Regions from separate parts of the Homo sapiens genome. Here region 2 is linked to region 1. The links are contacts of gene promoters, found by promoter capture Hi-C in human tissues and cell types (Jung and others, 2019). All regions are on one chromosome and are shown on one strand. Each heading gives the region's core, a stretch centred on a gene start or on the middle of the fragment in contact. The rest is flanking DNA. Distances are from core to core; before and after follow the strand shown.

The links. The method cuts DNA at HindIII sites, captures the fragments that hold promoters and counts their contacts. A contact is called where the count stands out against the background at its distance.
Region 2: a fragment that was not itself captured here is called in contact with the fragment with the promoter of DNAJC10 in region 1 in 2 of the 25 tissues and cell types used here (dorsolateral prefrontal cortex and mesenchymal stem cells).

What each region holds. Positions count from the first base shown.
Region 1 is chr2:182,712,847-182,720,028 of GRCh38, forward strand. It overlaps DNAJC10 (DnaJ heat shock protein family (Hsp40) member C10), which reads left to right and starts at 3,411. Exons shown (of 24, transcript NM_018981.4): 1 at 3,411-3,637; 2 at 4,170-4,226; 3 at 5,095-5,444; 4 at 7,161-7,182. The coding sequence starts at 5,241. LOC101929976 (a long non-coding RNA gene) reads right to left here and starts at 1,764. Exons shown (of 7, transcript XR_427200.3): 1 at 1,315-1,764. It also overlaps a transcript of PDE1A not described here. RefSeq lists enhancers at 2,894-3,043, 3,064-3,133, 3,478-4,082 and a silencer at 3,644-3,803. The HindIII fragment of the contact is 2,921 bases long and covers 1,763-4,683 here.
Region 2 is chr2:182,197,979-182,205,160 of GRCh38, forward strand. PDE1A (phosphodiesterase 1A) reads right to left here. Exons shown (of 15, transcript NM_001363871.4): 9 at 3,710-3,811; 10 at 3,461-3,581. Among named protein-coding and RNA genes, the nearest start is that of PPP1R1C, 220 kb to the left of the region's middle. The HindIII fragment of the contact is 3,719 bases long and covers 956-4,674 here.

The DNA of each region.
Region 1 (7,182 bases), core at 2,161-4,660:
CGCCTGGCTCAGTTTTTTTAAATTAAATAATTCAATACTGTAATGACATTCCGTTGTTTAAACACTTCTGTGGCTTCCCATTGCTCATAGGAAAAGGCCCAAACTCCTTAAAATAAACTACATCTTGTCCCTGTCTGCTTTTACATTCCCATTTTGTTGACTCTCTCCTTTTGGCTTGCTACATTCTGGTGATCTTTTTGTTCCTTTAACACCCATGCTCTTTTGAAGTACAAGAACTATGCACTTGCTGTTCAATCTGACTATAATATTGCCTAATTTTTTGCCCATATATGTTAAATTTCTTCCTTTTTATTTTTATTTTTGGTGAAACCTTTGGCAAATCTTTGCCCCTAGAGTAGCTCACAACATCACAACACTATGTATTCTTCCTTCATAATTACAGATTTGTTTGAATAATTGATGTGTCCTCTATTATCCTACTTACTGAGGGCAGAGCTATGTCCTTGCTCACCACAGTAACCCTAATGACCTAGCCCAGAGAACAGTAGACTACTTTAATTAATAAATTAAATGTGCACTTTGGGAGGCTGAGGTGGGCAGATCACCTGAGGTCAGGAGTTCGAGACCAGCCTGACCAATATGATGAAACCTCGTCTCTACTAAAAATACAAAAATTATTTAGGTGTGGTGGCATGTGCCTGTAATCCCCACTACTTGGGAGGCTGAGACAGGAGAATTGCTTGAACCTGGGAAGCAGAGATTGCAATGAGCCAAGATCGCACCATTGCACTCCAGCCTGGACAATAAGAACAAAACTCCATCTCAAAAAATACTAAATAAATAAATAAATGAACTGTGTAAGATTATCAATCCATCTGTGCTCTTGACTCCATCCCTCTCATATCTGTGGCCTCTTTCTTTTTTGGCTTCTACTCAGCTTATGAACTTGCTCAAGCCTTTCCAAGCCTAAAGCATTTCCTCTTTGGAATCCACATCCTCTTCTAGTTACATGAGTTTCCTTCCTCTTTTCACCCAAACTCTGAACAGAGTATATGTACTTGCTATTTCCATTTCCTCAGCTCCTAGCCAATCTTTAGTCTACTACAATCTAACTTCCAGCCTTACCATCCACCAAAATTGTGCTTACTAAGGTCCCTATAACCTCCTAATTGCCAGACCTAATTAACAAGTTGCAGTCAGTATCTTATCTGACTCACTCTAACTTCCTTGATGTTTAGTTCCTTTTGCCCATCTCTGATCATCTCTTTTTTACATCCTGTATGGGTTCTTCTTCTTCAGCCTATTTCTCAAATTAATGTTTATTCATTCAAAAAATATTTATGTAGTACCTACCATATAGTAAGAACAGCTGGAGCCATAACAGTAAATAAAATGAACAAAAATCCACCTTCATGAAGCTTAGATTCTTTTTCCGTGTGTGCTTTCATTCTTGATGTTAGAATTCCCCAAGGTTTTAATCCTTGGTCCACAACTTTACTTATTCTGCACACTTTCTTTGGGTGATCTGATGATTTTTCTCCTATTTTTTCTCCAATCTAGACATTACCCATGAGTTTTATGCAGGGTATATTCACTAAGATATGATCTAGGAACCTTGAACTAGATATGTCCAAGTCAGAACCCTTTATCTTTTCCCTAAACAGATCTTCATTCAGTGGGTAGTATTCAGCCATAAGAAGTCAGAAGTTAAACTTAAATCTTTCCTTTATCTCCCATATCCAACCAATCACCATCTCTTACTTTTTTTTTTCCCCCAAGACAGAGTCTTGCTCTGTACCCAGGCTGGTGTGCAGTGGTGTGATCTTGGCTCACTGCAACCTCTGTCTCCCGGGTTCAAGCGATTCTCTTGACTCCCGAGTAGCTGGGATTATAGGGGTGTGCCACCATGCCCGGCTTATTTTTGTATTTTTAGTAGAGATGGGATTTCACCACGTTGGCCAGGCTGGTCTCGACCTCTTGACCTCAAGTGATCCACCCGCCTCAGCCCCTCAAAGTTCTGCGATTACAAGCGTGAGCCACCACACCCGGCCCACCACCTCTTAAAGCATTTACCCTATTTGTCTAACATTCTCCTGTTCTTTCTCCAGTTTTGTATGCTTTGCATCCTCTCTCCAATAGCTGCCAGGATGATCTAAAATACAATCTCAGTCTCTTTTTTAAAAGCTTCCTCATCACCTAAGAGATAGAAATCTATGTCTTCATCTTGGTATAAAAACCTGTCTGTGATCTGGTCCCTGCTTCATCTTCCAGTTTTCTGTTTGTTTTTCAATTTACTTTAAGATTTTGTTACAGTGTGTAACAAAATGGTTACACACTGTGTCATAATGCTTAACATCATAGTCTCTGAAGCCAGGTTGCTTAGATGTGAATCCTAGCTCTCAAATATTTGCCTCAGTTTCCTCAAATGGGAAATAGATATAGGAGCCACTATCTTGTAAGATTATTTGGAGGACTAAATGAGTTACTACATGTGTGCTTAGACCAGTTCCTGAGACATATTAACTACTATTACATCAGGCTGCTTCTAATGTTTGCCTTTGTTCATTCTACTTCCTCTTCTTTCCTACCAAGTATTAGCTTAGCCATAGATCCTGTGTAGTTTTCCAAGTTTTTAGAAGCTGACACTTGATTTACTCCCCGAAACTGTTACCAATCACAACTTATTTCATGTTAGGGTTGATGTTATAAGCAGGTATCCTCTAGGCTCGGTTTTCTCTTTTAAATATAGAAAATGTAGTAAATATAACCACTTCAATTGTTATATTGCTGTGGGACAAAATGCAGTTCCTGTACCATAGCAGTAGGAGATCAAGGTAAGAGAGAACAACGATAACTCCCCAGTTTCTAGCTTGTATGACTCAGAATCCAGAAAATATTGTAGAAGTCTCAAATGCTTGTTGATACACACGCTTACACAAAATTGTAAATGTTTTAATTTCCTTCAAGTTTCCTACTGCCTCTTCAGTCCGCTAGCCTGATACTGCAATCAGTGTCGCTTCAGGCAACTTCTCCTTTCTCCGCCAAATTTCGCCTTTCGGTCTCACCCACCCATCACCCAGACAAATCCTCCAAAGCTCCGTCTTCCCTTTAAAAGACTCTCAGGGAACTCAACCCCAAAACCCACCCTCTGGGTTTCCCCGTCACCCTGGCAACGGAAGCAGGAAGAGGCGGGCTTCGCCATCCACCCTCCCCGCCCGCGGCAGGCGCCGGCCGCATTGGTGAGGGGGCGCGGGCTGCTTGGCCAGGGCAGTTCCCTCAGCTCCGGGTTGGAGCCGGAGCCGGAGCCGGATCCCGCGCACACCGCCACGTCAACCTAAACCTACACCGCCCTCTCCACCCCACCGCCGCAGCGCCCGCTGGGCCCGCAGCGGGTCTCCCCAGGCAGCGTCCTCCACGCCTTTCCCACAATGCTCCGCGCCAGGCCCCGCCCCGGCTCGCCGTGGAGACCGGCGCGTGAGGAACCTACCGGTACCGGCCGCGCGCTGGTAGTCGCCGGTGTGGCTGCACCTCACCAATCCCGTGCGCCGCGGCTGGGCCGTCGGAGAGTGCGTGTGCTTCTCTCCTGCACGCGGTGCTTGGGCTCGGCCAGGCGGGGTCCGCCGCCAGGGTTTGAGGATGGGGGAGTAGCTACAGGAAGCGACCCCGCGATGGCAAGGTGGGCATGGGCCCGGGGCTAGGGCTTTGCTGGAGCCGGTGGTGGCCTGGGCCCTCCGGTCAGGGAGGGGCGGAATGGCTGAGCGCCTGAACCTCCCTTCCTGTGCGCTCTTAAGACCTGGATATTGTGTTCTCGCTCCCCACCTTCCTCCTCCCTGTTATTCACACCACCCTTCCTCTGCCCAGCGATTCCCTCTCAGTTACTTACACTTTCTCCCTAAGTCCGACCTGAGACTTCAGACACCAGCAACACTTAACAGCCCTGTTCCCCCGTGTCTTCATCTTTACCCCTCTCCCCTCTCCCACTCTGCAGTGATGGCAATGCGAAAGCTTGCGCCTTGCATTTACCTGGCGCTTCCACCTGCCCGGTAGCTCGGGCCACGGGCAGTTCGGCCACACCCACGCTGAGAACAACCCCTGGGCGAGAAACATCTTATCCCAAAGTGTTGATTGAGACTATGCCCTCTCTTTTTCTGATGGTTGTTTTCTTGTTTGGATACTTGTTAATCTCTACATCATTATATTTTTCAAAGGTATATTTTTGTGGAATGAAAAGGAAGTATTAGAAATGAGCTGAAGACCATTCACAGGTAAAGAGAAAAATTTTTAAATATACATTTAGGATTAAATGAAAAACAGAAATGAGGTGCGAGGAGCGTTAGATTTTTCAAAGCATTACGATCTCTTTGGAACTAAAATATAGTGGTTGAAATGTGATATGATGAAGTAATGATTGTTTTTGCCCTGCAGAGAGTATGTCTAAATAACCGATTCCCTTCTCTTTTTGTGTTTTGTTTCTACTTACACCAAACATGAACTTTGCAATAAAATTACACTGGTAACTTACAATTGTTTTTCTACTATTTTTAAAAAATGGCCTCTACTTAAATTCAGTATAAGCACCTTCTGAGGAAACTCCGGGAAGAAGATCGACTGCTGTGTAGATTGTCTATTATAACAATATATTTCACTGTCATTTCTGGTAGGGTTATATGAGAAGTAAAAAACCCTATGTTTCCTTCTAGTCCCTCCCAAGGACATTTCCTACAAGTGAATTCTGCTGAAAATGAAAATTAGACAGCTTTAGGAGGTAAAGAAGTAGCTAAAAGGAAGAGGTATTACAGGCAACGCTATAACTGGGTAGAAAGAGGAAGCACCTGTAGCTCATTGCCACCTTTGTGTTCTGATGCTCGTCAGAGGTCTTTTCTCAGTGTATAAATTGCTGAGGGTGTGTGTGCAAGCTACTTACTACCACTCATGACCTTTTTTCTGCTATCTTCAGTGATTTCACAAATCTAGCTACATGGATGTAGAAAGAGTGAAAAATAGAACCTGGGGCATTCACACTGATTTGCCATTTAATGGAGATTGTATTGCTGACCATGTTCTGTGATAAATAAATTGTGCTATTATTGTTTAGTTCAAAATGTATTTTAACTGCCTGCTTTTCTTTCTTAGATTAATATTTTTGGGGACAGATTTGTGATGCTTGATTCACCCTTGAAGTAATGTAGACAGAAGTTCTCAAATTTGCATATTACATCAACTGGAACCAGCAGTGAATCTTAATGTTCACTTAAATCAGAACTTGCATAAGAAAGAGAATGGGAGTCTGGTTAAATAAAGATGACTATATCAGAGACTTGAAAAGGATCATTCTCTGTTTTCTGATAGTGTATATGGCCATTTTAGTGGGCACAGATCAGGATTTTTACAGTTTACTTGGAGTGTCCAAAACTGCAAGCAGTAGAGAAATAAGACAAGCTTTCAAGAAATTGGCATTGAAGTTACATCCTGATAAAAACCCGGTAGGTAAACGTTTGTTTTTAAAAATATTTGATTATATTTTTGGTACATTTTGATATTTATTTAAATTGCTTTAAATGATCAAATGCTTAAGAATAATCATATGTCAAAATTATAATTCAACTTGTATGCTAGAAACAAAAGCACCAAAATGTTCTGGATTATTTAGGATCCCGTGAAGGAATGTCAGTACCAAAAATTCAGTTCCCTCTTAATTTGTAGACGATTTTCCAACAATTCTATTAAAGACATTAACCCCAAAACAAACGATAATATCCGTGAAGTAGTTGAAGTAGTTTTCTTATTAAAGTAGGTTAAGATCAAGTGTTTTAGAACAGGAACAAAAATATTTTTTTAAAACTCAGAGGGTATGACTTGCTAAAAATAGAAGTAATAGCTAATAATAGCATGTTTTAACTTTGACTGTTTTCTTCTGTGTATGCACAAGTCCACAAACCAGAGTTAGAAAGTTTTATAAATTAATACTTCACAGCAGCTGAATATAATGCCAGTCATAAATATTTATGTACACATTAATGTAAATCTTTCAAAACTAAACTCATTTTAATTTTTATGGTGTTTTTGTAATTTATTTGATTATTTCTTAGTGAGATTTAGCGTTCATCATTAACAAGAAGACATAGTTATAATTTTCTCTTTTCTAGGTAGAAGTTTTAAAATAGGATTATTTTCATTGCATAAAGCTGAGCAAGAGAAACAATATTTCTTTAAATATTGTTTAGTTGATTATCTTTTCCTAAGATCCACATTCTATTTAAGGTTTTTATTTTTTTTTAATTTTTCTTTAAAATTTCAAATAATGATTTTTAAGTTTCCATATAAAAGACAGTAGACCTTCTACCATCCGAGTATTATTTAAATGAAAGCATCCTTCAGAAACAAATTTTATGAAGCACAGTAACAAGGAAGAAACATTTCCGATCCAATTTTGGATTGTTTTCTTTTTTTTTTTTTTTTTTTTTTTGAGATAGGGTCTCACTCTCTTGCCCAGACTGGAGTGCAGTGACGCCAGCGGCTTCCTGCAACTTCTGCATCACAGGCTTAAGCAATTCCCCTGCCTCACCCTCCTGAGTAGCTGGGATTACAGGCGTGCGTCACTACTGCCCAGCTAGTTTTTGTGTTTTTAGTAGAAACGGGGCTTCACCATGTTGGCCAGGCTGGTCTCGATCTCCTGACCTCAAATGATCCACCCTCCTCAGTCTCCCAAAGTACTGGGATCGATTTTGGGGTGTTTTCTGATACTGGCTTTTATGTAATTAGCTGATAGATTGGGGCACATCCTTTTTTAATTAAGTTGATTTTACCTCAAATAGAAAAATAACCTACAAATGTATTGATTTATAATTGTTATAGGAGTAAAAAATATTTATGAAATTAAGAGTTTCAACAGGCTTATTATTTTCAGCTGCATTTTTTAGGAAGAATAACTCATGGTCTGATAACGTCTGTCAACCTTTTGAAGAGTCAATTATTTCATTACTTTTCTTACTTTTTTTTTTTTTTTTTTGAAGATTATAGTTTCTTAAAAAATACTTCATTTCAACCCATGGTAACTCATGTCATGTTGTATTACCCCTCCTTATGTTGGTATATGGTCTCCCAGAAGTTACTAGATTAATTAAACCTACATATATGTTTTGAAGAAACTTGGATTGTGTATCTGAAATAATTGTATTATATCTAATATTTTTTAACAGAATAACCCAAATGCACATGGCG
Region 2 (7,182 bases), core at 1,565-4,064, 520 kb before region 1:
TATTAAAAATTTGTAAGAATTGACATCTTAGAAATATTGAGTCTTTCAGTCATTAACATATCTCTCCATTTATATAGGTCTTAAAATTTCTCTCAAAAATGTTTTGTGGTTTGCAGTGTGGAGGTTTCATATACATTTAATTAAAGGTTTCCCCCAAAATTTTATTATTTTATGCTGTTATAAAGCATACTGTTTTCAATTTTTATTTTCAAATTGTTTGCAGCTTGCATACAGAAACACAATTGATTCTACAACTAATAAACTCATTTATTAATTCTAGTAAGTAGCCTTTTGTAGATCTCTTGAGGTTTTCTATGCAGATGCTCATGTTTCTGCAAATAACAGTTTTATTTATTTTTATTCAAACTATACTTTGTTTTTTATTACCTTCCTACACTGGCTAGAACTTCAAATGCAATGTTGAATAGAAGTGGTAAGAGTACCTATAATGATCTTAGAATAAAAATGTTCAGTATTTCATTGTGAAGTATCACATTCGCTATAGACCTTTGATCAGGTTGAGAAAGGTCTTCTACTTCTAGTTTACTAACAGTTTTTATAATTAATGTCTGTCGAATATTGTCAAATGCATTTTGCATATCTATAGGGTTGATAATTAATATATTTTTTCCTTTATTTCCTTTAATATGGTGAATTACCTTAATTTTTTAATATTAAACTGACTCAAGTTATGATATGATATGCACTATCTTACTAAATTGCTGGATTTGATTTGCTAAAAATTTTAAAAATTAAAAAAAAATTTCTCTTTCAGTTTTATGGCAGATGTGGATGTGTAATTTTCTTTACTTGAAAAGTCTTTGTCAGGTAATGTCGAGAATTATGCTGTCAAATTTTCCTCTTCCTCTATGTCATAAAAGAATTTGTGTAAAACTGGCATTATTTCTTCCTGAAATGTTTGAGAAAATTCTCCATCTCTCAATTGAATTGAATATTGAGAATTGAAATCGGAAATAAGAATTAAAGTCATCTAAGCCTAGAGTTTTCTTCATAAGAAGAGTTAAAGTACAAATTCAACTTTTGAAACAGATATATGAATATTCAGACTACATGATTTTTTCTTGTGTCTGTTTTGGTAATTTATATCTGTCAAAAATTTTGACAATTTCATCTAAGTTTTCAATTTTATTGGCATAAATTGTGCATAATATTCCTCACCCTTTTGATGAATACAGGCTCTATAATGATATTCTCTCTTTCATTTATAGTTTTTTCCTCTTTTTGATCCTGCAAGTAATTTCATTACTTTTTCGGAGAGCCAACTGTTATCTTCATTAACTTTTGTTATTGTTTGTCTTTGTTCTGTTTCACTGTTTTTGGCTTTTATATTTATTATATCCTTCCATCAACTTATTTTGATTCAATTTTCTTAATTTCTAGCTTCTTAAGGTGAAACAGATATAACTTACTTTATTACACATTTTTTTTCTAATGTAAGTATGTGAAGCTATAAAATTTCCCCTAAGCACTGCTTCAGTTGCATCCAACAATTTTCAAATATTATGTTTTCAAAATCATTCAACTTAAGATATTTAAAAATTTCTTCTTAACCTGAAAAATCTTTGTATCTCTTTATTTTTCTGTTTTTGCATCTCTAATGTCACAGGGCTATACAGAAAGATCTCTGGTTGATTGATTGAGTATATCATTATAATTTTTAATTGACCATAATAAGCAGTTGACCTTTAGAATTTGGTAGGTTTTTACATTTAGTGTATTTTTTTAGCACAAAGCAAATTATTAAAATATTTTTCAATACTATTTTTAGGACCAAAATATTTGAATTTAGTAAGATGCTACTCAGTAACTTTCTCTAGGAATATAAATTGCAATATAAAAATGAAACCACACATTATGTCCATCAACAATGGGAGACAGAAACGTGAGTCATCCAAACATAGTAATATATTTGGTGTTTATATCTTCAGAACAGGTATAAAATTAATGAACAAACTTTCAAAATACCACACATTATGTCCATCAACAATGGGAGACAGAAACGTGAGTCATCCAAACATAGTAATATATTTGGTGTTTATATCTTCAGAACAGGTATAAAATTAATGAACAAACTTTCAAAATAAAGAACAATACTGAGAAATGAAATAATCTGAAAATACAGAAATAAAAGAACTTCTCTAAGTGGGACTGTGATATAATAAAACAAAATTATCTGATATTCATTCCCAGTTCCTAGCAGAGCTTCAAAAACCTGTGGAATTTCATGAGTGATAGGAGACTCTAGGCTAATGAGGCAACTCTGGGCCTATCCCCTAGATAGTTTCAGCATAGGGCCTGGTCACCAGAAACCAACCACATGATTAGAAAGTTGGAACTTTAAGCCAGCCAGGGGATATCTGGGAAGGAAGTGAGGCTGGAGACTGAGTTCAATCGCATGTCCAATGGTTTAATCAACCATGCCTATGTAATGAAACCTTGATAAATACTCTGGACAGGAAAGCTCAGTAGAGCTTCCTGGATGGTGAAAACATTGACAAGGCAGGATGGTGGTACTCGCTAACTCCACTGGAAATAGCAAGGAAGCTCTGCATCCAAGACCCTCCCAGACCTTTCCTTATGGGCCTTTTCATTTGGCTCTGCCTGGATTGTATTCTTTATAATAAAATTGTAATTGTAAGGATAGCACTTTTGAAGTTTTGTGAGTCATTCTAGCAAGTTATCAAACCTAGAGAGGGTTGTGGGAACCACTGAACTTGTAACTGGCTGGTCAGAAGTGCTGGTGTCCCACAGCCCCATTTGCAGCTGGCATCTGAAGTAGAGCCAATCTTGTGGAAGACTGAGCCCTTAATTTGTGCAATTTGATGCTAACTCTGAGTGGTTAGCATCACATTTGTATTGTAGCACTCCAGCTTGGATTGTGGGGGTTGCAAAACAGGGACATGTATAAAGAAAAGATGTGTACTTGTGGCAGAGAACGCCAGTCACAATCCTTATCCGGGCTTGTTTCTGACGTAACATTAGATTTTTGTTGTTGTTGTTGTTGCCTATTTCAGTTAGGCATGTGTCCACCCAGCTAAAGCAATATTTCTTGGCCTCCATTAAAATTCTGGCCAACAAGATTTATGCAGAACTGTTATATATCCTTATCTACTCTTTCTATTATGAAAGCTATTTGCTGTCTCTGCTGTGGCACTTACGTCTTAACAGCAGATAACAATTCTTAGCTGCTTTTATTTTTCTTTCCTGACAGTAGCATCTCAGATCCAAAATTTGAATCTCTTTAAAACATGTATCACACTACATAGACTTAATACACCTTTCTGATAGACTAATAAATTTTGCTGAAACCCCCAAGAATGTGTAGGTGGCCAGTTGATAATAGTAAGTCACAAGCCCTGGATTCCATACAGAAAAGGTGTACGCTAATATGCACAGTCACTATTTCCAAAAACATTTGCACAGAGTGTGAAAGAGGCACCTGCAGGAAAAACTCCTCCATTAGGGCCATGGTCCACCGATAATGCAGCTTCCAGGATTTGGCTGGGTGGCTGATGTCTGCTGCGTGGAGAATCAGGGACATGGTTTTGGCTCTGTCAATCCTGTCAAACCAAGGACATGCTTATATTATTCAAAACAAAGGAAACAATTACAGTCTTTTCTGAGGCCAAGCCCCTGGAACTTTAACATGACAAAAAAAAAAAAACAACAAAAAAAACACAAAACCTACCCTTCAGGCTGCTGCAAACTGTTTCTTATATTTTTAATTTGCTGGAAGTGACCTGACATGTCTGTAGATAAAACCATTTCAATCACTAGGTTCCGAAGATCCCTGCAGAGTCACCAAAAGGAGAAAGGTTCATTCAGCCATTTATTGTTCTGAAGTGGAACACTTCAATAAATAATCACTCACCATGTTTTATAGTTCTTAATGGATATGAACACAAAAGATGCTACTTTTTAAATGTGAAAGTCCACACACAAGTTTGATATTATTTTACCTTTTAACTGTCATGGATCTAAGAAGTTGCCAGCAGCGAGAATGGCAACGATGTTCACACCTCCCTGAAGAGCTAGTGCTTTCCCTTCTCACTCCCACAACTCTTCTGCAGTCATAATTCCTAAATATTATTATTTTTAATCTGAAAGGAACTTTAGCCATTTTAAAGAAAAACTATTCCAAATACAGTATTATATAGTATTTCAATGCTTTGAGGAAAAAAAGTAGTCCAGTGGGGCCTGAGACTATTCTAAATCCACATGTCAACCAAACTAAAAGGTTTGATGTCTCAGAGAAGAGACAGAGATAAGAAGAGCATGAGATTTCAAGACCCTATCTGATTCTTCTTCATTTTGCATTTTTAATCAAAACGACTACTATTAATAAAACCAGTGCTATTCATTCAGTATTTATTCAGCAAGGCACTGAACTGTAAGGATTAAATGTCTTCATATAATACCGATAATAAAATACTTTAGCAACTAGTTGCTTTGTATGTATACAAAGACATTTAATCCTCCTAACAATCCTGAGGGAGCATTAATATTTCCCCCCAAAGGAGACTGAGTCACCCAGTCACACAGCTGGTACATGGCTCAGATAAGATTCAACGCAAGAGGTCCCACTTCCAAAGCAGACACATGGACCACTCCTCTGTGCCAAGCTTCCATCATAAGAACCCCAGAGAAACCAAGATGCTAAAGTGAGTAGTGATTTTCTGTTTAAGCTTTTGGGATCTGACCCTCCCTAACATAAAGAGAGCCATTGGTATTACTGACTATTTTAACCAAGGCACTGTAAATACAATAACCATGTCACAAAGCCTCACACTTAGTAGAAAATAAGGCACCCCAGCAAAGCCTTGCATGTTCCACAATTCCTTGTTTGCTCTATACAGATAAGTTAAAAAAGTCACTTGTACTGGAAAACATATTTCATTTTCATTGTGTGGTGTGGCCAGTAGGATAAGCTGAACCAAAAGTGTGAAGGAAACTTGAATTACGATCTTGCACAAAGATACTTTACTTAAAGATGATATAATCTATTTAATTGCCTTTTTAAAAAAACTATATATTGGCTGGGCATGGTGGCTCACGCCTGTAATCCCAGCACTTTGGGAGGCCGAGGCGGGTGGATCACGAGGTCAGGAGATCGAGACCATCCTGGCTAACACGGTGAAACCCCGTCTCTACTAAAAATACAAAAAAAAAAATTAGCCAGCCCTGGTGGCGGGCACCTGTAGTCCCAGCTACTCGGGAGGCTGAGGCAGGAGAATGTCATGAACTCAGGAGACAGAGCTTGCAGTGAGCCGAGATTGCACCACTGCACTCCAGCCTGGGCTACAGAGCAAGACTCCGTCTGAAAAAAAAACAAAACAAAACTACATATTGATGGTTCTTGCTGAAAATCATGAGCACTCAACATTTCTATTGAATTTTTAGATAGAAGCCATGAGAATCAATACTCTGCTTACTTACTTTTATTCAAGTAGTAAGGGAAAGGAAGCTATTAATAAAATTATTCTCAATTACATTTTTTTCGCTGAAAATATGACAAGACCCATATTTGAAAAGCAACTGAATAAGAACATTTATGTTTGCTAAGGAAAATGAGATTAGAGTTTAAGGAAATCAATAGAATCTAATAAGTATATTGTGCTTTGCATATAAATGATCAGTAAATGCTAGATGTTATCAATAACCAACTAATAATATGTCAATAATTAGGCAAAATAAGAAAACATTACTTAATTTATAAAATTTTCTTGTGAAAACTTTTAAATTAATGCATTTATTTTTACTAAAAGTACTTTAAGAAATAAACAGATATGTAAACAGAAAACATCAGTCTTTAAGAAGATATCCATATTTTAATTCTTAGTAAAATGTTATCAAACGTATAGCATCAAATAGGTATTTTATAGATTTTTGGAAAGTGTTGAATCTATTAAATTCTAAAATGTATATAATATGTACACTATTTGTTAAAACAATTCTTTAAAAACATTCAATTAAAATGACTCTGAAGTTACCAAACAGAAACTTAGACAATTACAGCAATAAACTATTAGAATAAAATATTTAAAATGGTAAATAACAAAATATAATAGGAAATAAAATCACACTGAAATAGCAACAAAGTGAACTTTGAGGAAAAAATGTTTATTTCTTTGAATAACAACAAATTAATATTATAAAAATTATCTATGGGAATGGTAATCACTGATTAAGAAAATAAACTAATACCCTAGATGTAAATAATCTCTCTTAGGCTTTAGGAAATATCTCAGAACTTGTCTGCTTGTTCCTACCTTTGCCCATCTAATCGCTACATAGCCCAACAGTGGTCTCTTTAAAATTATTTCACAGTTAGATCCTGGCATTTCTAGACTGTAAATCCTCTTGGGCTACTATTTCCTGCAGAATACAGTTAACCCTTGAACAACATAAGTTTGAACTGTGTGGGACCACTCGTACACATATTTTTTCCCCTCTGTCACACCTGAGAAGCAAAACCAATCCCTCCTCTTCCATTCTCCTCCTCAGCCCACTCCACATAAAGACAGAGGATGAAGGCCTTTTTGATGACCCACTTCCACTTAATAAACAGTAAATATATTTTCTATTCTTTATGATTTTCTTAATAACATTTTCTTCTCTCTAGTTACTTTATTGTAGTAATATTGTATGTAATACAAATAACATACAAATTATGTATTTATCAACTTTTATATTATTGGTAAGGCTTCCTATCCAGAGTGGGCTATTAGTAGTTAAGTTTTTGAAGTGTCAAAAGGTATACATGGGTTTTCAGTTGAATGGGGGTGCCCCAACCCCTGTATTGTTCAAGGGTCAACTGTAAAATGAAAGGCCTGAACTGTGTCTCCAAAAGAAAGTTCCACCTTCCCTCTACCTGACAGCATTTTCTAGAGTTGCAAAAATGAGCCCATATCTCTAGATATGGCCTTGAAGAACCAGGAAACTTTGAAAATTTGAAAAAGTGTTCACAGGAGATTTAGGCTTATTTTAAACTCTGATTTTTATCTTTTACGTTTTTTAATGTTTTTATTGTCACTTTCCTTTTGGATATTTCTTTTTACCTTGATTTAAAAAAACAAAAATGAAAGCAAAAACCTTTGATATTTACATTCAATTGGAAACCTTTTCTAGTCAATTAAATGACTTTTAATAAGATTGTTGTTA